2 separate regions of the Homo sapiens genome follow, and region 1 is linked to region 2. Evidence: promoter capture Hi-C in human tissues and cell types (Jung and others, 2019). All regions are on one chromosome and are shown on one strand. The core of a region is centred on a gene start or on the middle of the fragment in contact, and the rest is flanking DNA. Distances in the headings are between cores, read along the strand shown.

Region 1 (3,671 bases), core at 88-2,587, 49 kb after region 2:
AGCCCACTAAGAATACAATATATCTATGTAAAACAAAATGCAGGTAACAAAACAGGCTTTCTGCAGTATGCTTTTTGATAACTTCTGCCTTTTCTAAATTAGCCCAAAGCATAAGGAAAAAGCATTTCCAGGAGGGCCACTGGCTTCTGCTGAAATCAGTACTGAGAAAGAATAGAAGTAAGATTGAGATGTACAGACCAGTTGCTTGTCACCTAACTGATCTTGCTCACCATGGGCCATTTAAGATACAGAACTTAGAACAGGCAGGGCAAGGGTTATAATAAAGTCTTGTTGTGGTCTCTACTCTCATCCATCATTATGTGAACATTCCTACCCTCTTTGTTAGCAATTCCGCTCAGTTGCCTTAATCAGGAATCTGAGCAGAACTCCATGAAAATTCAGTTAAAAATGCAAATCCTAGGAAGAGCTCAATGTGTAACAAAGGCTAGTGTGTCAATTGAAATTGCTGTGCCTTATATAGGCATCCCTCAGTATCTATGGAGGATTGGTTTCAGGAATGCCCCCATACCAAAATCCATGGATGCTCAAGTCCCTTATATAAAATGGCATATTTCCATTTAACTTATGCACATCCTTCCATATACTTTAAATCATCTCTAGATTATTATAATACCTAATACAGTGCCTACATATCATTTCATTTGCATGGATTCAACATAGTACTCAGTGCAGCAGATCCAAGTTTTGCTTTTTGGAACTTAGTGGAATTATTTTTTCCTGAATATTTTCAATCCATGATTGAATCCTGGGTGGGGAATCCACGGATATGAAGCACCGGCTGTACTCTTTGCAGCTTTTTTTCATAAGTCTCTCTGAGAAAATATTTTCTTCACTTGTATTAAAACATTTTCAAACAGAGCAAGAGTAATTGCCATGGATAGCTCTTACCTTGTATTGGAAGCTATGGCCGTGAAAATGTACAGTGTGTAAGTCTATTTCATTGCCCATTCCCATCAGATACCAGTTGACTTCATCTCCCACGTGCATTGTGAGGCCTTGTAGGTTTCCAAACATTCTTCCATTAATAGCTAGGGAAAGCATATGGTTTTATGTTACTTTTCAGGATATTTTAAACCAATAGCTATTTCAAAGAAAATATGATTATTAGGTTAATGTAAAGAATCTTTTTGATGTAATAGGACTTATTTTACTACAAATGAGAGAAATGGATACTTTAAAGTCAATAATATCACATTGCTTTTCTAGGCACTTTGCACCAAAAGCCTTAATCTTAGTTTTGGATTATTTCAAAGGAAATGAGATTTTGGAATTGGAAAATAAATTAGCAAATGATTTTGAACATAGTCCCCTTTTTGTTTTGAACAGGATTCTACCTGACATACAAAGTGAGGCAGAAGTGGTTTATTTTAAGACAAAACAAATGAATGGTCTCCAAAATAATTTTATTTGAAAGAGAAAATGATAAAAAAGTAGAAAAATTGTTTTAGAATAATGTGACATACCATGCATTTTATTGCTTTCTATGAATTCCTCATCATCTTTGTTTACTTTCTCGGGGTGATCAGAGTATGTTTTGATGTTGTCATCTAAGTACCAAGATTCATTCTCATCAAAAACTAGAAACAGAAGGGCAAATTCCAGTTTCCTTCTGGGATTGAATACTTTCAAGTAAGGTCTTCGACAAACAATCAGGGGGCCAATTAATCCACTGTAGAGGTCCTGGAAACAAGAAAAATCTTCAGTAACCCTTGTGAATTAGGTCAGGATTTCAGAGAACTGAGACTTTGCACCCAGGGCCTCAGGAATTTTGGAGAGACCAATTGAAGTAACAGACTTTGCCCAATGTGGTACTGCCAATTTAGTAACTTTTCACTTGAAGTAGTTAAATTGGAACAATGGTGAGTAGTAGGTAGGTCATGTGGGTGATGCTGACATAACAGAAATGTCTGCAGAGGCAAAAATTAGCTCAGCTAATGAGCAGTGATTTTAAAAGAATCCCAAATGAACAGTGTTGGTTTGTTCCATAAACTCATGAACTCTTGAGTGTGAGCCAAGCGCTATGGCAGTCCCTAAAAATCCATAGATGAATGAAATGTGTAATAATAAATAGGACCACAAATACCAGATTTACTCATTTGTTTGAGCCAGAACACTGAATTATCAAGGAGCTACTTCCCCCGGCTCACTCAGGCACTTCACCCACCTATCTATAACCGACTCCATTTCTTTTCTCCCTCCTTACAGTAGAGGTCCTTGAAATTTGCCTCACGTATTACAACGGCCTCCCAACCTCCAGTCTCTTCCCCCTCCAAGCCTTCCTTCATTCCACCAGAATGAAGGATCTGAAATGCAAATATACTGCCATTCTTGGTCAATTTTTCAGTGGCTACCTGTGACCCACAAGACAAAAATCTAAACTTCCCAAATATCTTGAAAGGCCTTTGAGCTGTATCATATTAGGAAATGTTAGATTTTTGTCTTGTGTGTCATAGGTAGCAGCATAGTTGCTAAAGTAGATTGCAAACAGTTTATTTTCCTAGGATTTTAACGTAGAATTGGACCACAGGAAAACACTAACCTTGTCTTCCTTCAATTGTGTGTCTATTTTGGGAAGTGTCACAAAACAAATGATTTGTATTTTACCTTAACTTGATCCACAGTTGAATAATAAGCCCATGGAATACAAGCAGAATCCTCTGTTCCAGCTCCAGATCTTTCTGGGATTTTCCATACGTAAGTGAGAGTTTCACCTAAATTCATCAAGTGTTAATGGATCTGGTTGTATTTGGTTTATATTGTACACACACACACACACACACACACACACACACACACACAGCCTTGATAACTAGGACCCAGGAACTGGAAATGTCAGTGTAATTAGTTTTTAAAAATTGTGGTACTCAAGATTGTTTTCAGGAATTTAGTTTTAAGATGAACTGGAAGACAAAATTTTGTCATTTTTTGGGTTAATTTTAAATTAGCTATAACCCACTTGCCATACCACAAAGCTAGGAGGTGTGTACTTCAATATTACAATTTGAAAAAACTTTGCAACCAATCTCTTCTTAGCTTGAAGTGTGTTTTCCTAATATACTTTTTTCTCTTCAGATACCAAGTGATTTTTCCCCAGTGGCTGGCACCTTTCCCGTAATCTCTGCATGTGTGTATCTGGACTATTTTGTGTAATTCCCTCAGCTTCAGCATTGGCTTCCTTTCCTTGTCCTCTCTCATGATCATCCTTAGTGAGCTCATGATTCCTGGCGAGGAGCCGTTAGACCTCTTGATCTCATGAGTCACCGACTTGACACAGTTATGTTTACCTCCCCCTCCAGTCCATCTCATTCTATCACACCATGTGCTGTTTTGTCACTACTCCCACATACAGGACATAACCACACCCTCGGCCTTGGCATTTTGAAGACGACCAGTTGCTTCACCCTCCTGCTTTGCCAAGGCTCTTACCCTTTTCCCATGTGCTCTAGGCTTTTCTCCAGTCTGATCTGCGTTTCCATTCACCTCAGGGCTTCCTGTGCAACTGCTCACAGGCCTCAACTTTTGGCCATGCCCACTCACCAATCCCAGCCACACTCATTTTCCATCCCATTTATTTAGACCACACCATTACATATTCATGCTATCACACTAACCTGCCAGAGTCCAACAGACATTCACTAGAGAATCAAGCA
Region 2 (3,533 bases), core at 917-3,416:
GGTGGTATGTGCCTATAGTTCCTGCTAATCTGGAGGCTGGGATGGGAGGATTGCTCGAGCTCAGGTGGTCAAGGGTACAGTGAGCCATGATCACACTGCTGCACTCCAGCCTGGGTGACAGAGCGAAACCCCATCTCTTTAAATAAGAAAGAAAAGAAAGAAAGAGAGAGAAAGGAGGGAAGGAAGGAAGAAAGTTCTCAAGACAACCCTTTTCAACAGAGTGCTACCCTAAGTGCATGTGCTATGGGCTAAATTGTGTCTTCCCCCCAAATTCATATGTTGAATCTGTAACCTCCAATACCTCAGAATGTGACTGTATATAGAGATAGGGCCTTTAAGAAATAATTAAGGTTAAATAAGATCATAAGGGTGGGTCCTAATCTAATATGGCTGGTATCTTTATAAGACAAGGGAAGGACACCAGGGATGCAGGCACACAGAGGAAAGACCATAGGAACACATAATAAAAAGGTAGTCATCTTCAAGCCAAGGAGAAGGGGCTTCAGGAGAAACCATACCTGCTGACATCTTATCTTGGACTTCTAGCCTCCAGACCTGTGAAAATGAAATATCTATTGTGTAAGCCACCCAGTCTGTGGTGTTTTGTTATGGCAGCCCTTGCAAACAAATGCAACCTCCCGCAAGGAATTGATGGTGTGCCATTGCTGCCCCTGCATTCGTAACAGGAATACAAGTGGGCAGCTCCTGCTCACAGCTCCTGACAAACGTGGAAACCAGACACATGCCCCACCTTCCCTTGGGTAGCATGTCTCTTCCCAAAGAATCTTAGATGAGTCAGGTGCAGTGACTACAGCAAGGAAGAAGACACTATCTCTAGGAAGGAATGGGGTTCCAGGTTTTGAGCAAATCTCACTTCTTTCTCCAAAACAGACATTCTTTTTATGCAGGTGAAATTACACTAAAGTTAATATCAGTCTTCATTAGGAGAAAATTGAATTAGGATAATTAAGTCTTGAAGAAGAAAATTAAGCCAAAAAGAATAATATGGCAGATACTTGTGGAAAGGAATCTTTTTTACTATTGATTTTGATATTTGCTCTTAAGTTTTGTATCTAGAACAAATAACTTGTGGACTATTAGTCTGGTTGTTTTCCATAGGAGCCTTCTGTGATTTTTTGCAGCCCTAGTTCCTGACCTGAGCTACCTCCATGTTTACTTCTCTAACTCACTGAGTTTGACGAACCTGTTGTTTCCCATTACTTAGAGGTACTTTATTCATCTGAAGGGCCTAGGAAAGGGAGGCAAGTTTAACTTCAATCCAATTGCATCTAATTTACAAATTCTGAACTGGAAACTGACTGAAGAAAATGTTGCACTTTCATTTATGTCCCTGTGTGCCTAAATAAAACAGCATCCCTCAATCCATGCTAACACATATATTTTCTAGGTGAACTGGACAAAGTTATACTACTTGTTTTATCTAAATCTGATTTTTTTAGAAAAGGGAAAGTGTTGCGATCGTGAACTCCACGTTGAGATGTCAGGAATAGATAATTTACTGCATAGTTTTAGGAGCACTGGACTGAAAGCCAGGGGATTTCCCTCCTAGTTCTTCTATCCTCTGGGGCTCAAACTAGTCTTTTGTCAAATGCCTACAAGATGAAGTCCATGGATTCTTTCTTTCAACAAATATCTTTTTGCCAAGCACGTTCAAGGCTTTGCTCTTTCCAGCTGAACTATTCTAGAATTTCCATTATTTTAAAGCAACTCTTCAGAGTGTTTAGCCCCGAGTTGCACCCCATTTCAGTTTTTGCAACCCCATCCTCCAGAAGCTCAGGGACTACTGAAGAGACATGAATAACGCTCCTCAAAGTAAGTACAAAATGTTACAAGATAGATGATGAATTGTCAGAACGTACTCAAAAGCCAAAACATACCGCCTGGCCCAAAGCAGTAAAAGACGAAAGGCAGGGACCCAGCGGTCCCCGCACCCACCGGCCACTGAGCATAGAGCAGTGGCAAGCTCGCGCGGCGGAGTGGGAGGCGCAGAGACCGAAAGCACTGCAGCGCCAGAGCGCGGGCTGACCAGGCTGGCGTGACCGCTTTCCCGACGCCTGCCACGCCCCGCGGCGGCCTCTTTAAGTAGCGGAGCCGCGGGCGGGGCCGGCTGGCGTTCACGTGACCCGGCGTCATTGGCTCGCTCGCGGAAGTAGTCCTACATTCGCGGTCAGCGCGGGGTCTCCGGGCGCCCTGCAGGGCGGGCAGGCTGTGCCATCCCGCCGGACGTCGGGATGGTGCAGCTGTACAACCTGCACCCGTTCGGGTCGCAGCAGGTGGTGCCCTGCAAGCTGGAGCCGGACCGGTTCTGTGGCGGGGGGCGTGACGCGCTTTTCGTGGCGGCGGGCTGCAAGGTGGAGGCGTTCGCGGTGGCCGGCCAGGAGCTGTGCCAGCCGCGGTGCGCCTTCTCCACGCTGGGCCGGGTGTTGCGCCTGGCCTACAGCGAGGCTGGTGAGTAATCTAGAGAGCCAGGGGCCGCCTGGGGTCCAGCTTGAGGCCTCCTAGCTAGCGGACCGAACGTCTGGGCTGTAGCTCTAGCTAGGGATGGGACTTCTTGCTTCCCGGAATTTGCCGGATGGTCTCCCTGGGTCTGGCCGCTGATTGCTTGAAGTCGCATTGAGCTATGCGGTTGTCGCGGCAAGCATAGGTATGAGCTTGCTTCTGTCGGGGCGGAGACGCTGACATCTCTTCGTCTTGGTTTTCTGCAGAAAGGCCTCTGGCTGGATTCCACTCATCTCGGATACTTAAGCAAACAACAACAAAAAACTCTTTAGTGCATCAGATTTCAAAGACTTACCAAAAAAACAAGTAGGAATAAGGAGACTAGTACTGTATCCCGGAACCTCCAAGTACTCCCAGCTTTAACAATTATTCCAACTCTTGGCAGTTCTTTCACATCTGTACCTCCATCTACTTCCGGTCGGTTTTTGAAAGCTCACATTATGTGTTGATTTTTAAATGTGTGTAAGTAGAACTCAGACTGCCCCCCTCTCTTCTCTTAAACATCTGTGGCCGGGCGCAGTGGCTCACGCCTGTAATCCCAACACTTTGGGAGGCTGAGGCAGGCGGATCACGATGTTAGGAGTTCGAGACCAGCCTGGTCAATTTATTGAAACCCCGTCTGTACTAAAAATACAAAAATTAGCCGGACGTGGTGGTGGGCGCCTGTAGTCTCAGCTACTTGGGAGGCTGAGGCAGGAGAATCGCTTGAACCGGGGAGGCGGAGATTGCCCCATTGCACTCCAGTTTAGGCGACAGAGTGAGACTCCGTCCCAAAACAAACAAAAACAAACAGTTGTAAGAGCAGCCGTTACTCTTTCACACCAGAAATGTGAAGCAATACCAAGGAAATACTGTGTGGGTGAATCCTATTTTAGAAAAATCCAACATTTAAAACTAGATCCCTTTTAGATTACAGAAGAATTTACCATATAATTCCTTTAATACACTTACCTTCGATTCATACTTTACAAGATGGGTGTAAAGTTCAGTATTTACGTTGCAAAAGCTGGTGG

Evidence for each region. The method cuts DNA at HindIII sites, captures the fragments that hold promoters and counts their contacts. A contact is called where the count stands out against the background at its distance.
Region 1: a fragment that was not itself captured here is called in contact with the fragment with the promoter of HPS3 in region 2 in 4 of the 25 tissues and cell types used here (aorta, bladder, hippocampus and 1 more).

Annotation. Positions count from the first base shown.
Region 1 is chr3:149,176,931-149,180,601 of GRCh38, forward strand. It overlaps CP (ceruloplasmin), which reads right to left. Exons shown (of 19, transcript NM_000096.4): 15 at 2,626-2,732; 16 at 1,485-1,701; 17 at 910-1,049. Among named protein-coding and RNA genes, the nearest start is that of CP, 43 kb to the right of the region's middle. The HindIII fragment of the contact is 9,435 bases long and covers 1-3,671 here.
Region 2 is chr3:149,127,472-149,131,004 of GRCh38, forward strand. HPS3 (HPS3 biogenesis of lysosomal organelles complex 2 subunit 1) reads left to right here and starts at 2,167. Exons shown (of 17, transcript NM_032383.5): 1 at 2,167-2,469. The coding sequence starts at 2,253. RefSeq lists enhancers at 2,168-2,427, 2,209-2,708. The HindIII fragment of the contact is 14,149 bases long and covers 1-3,533 here.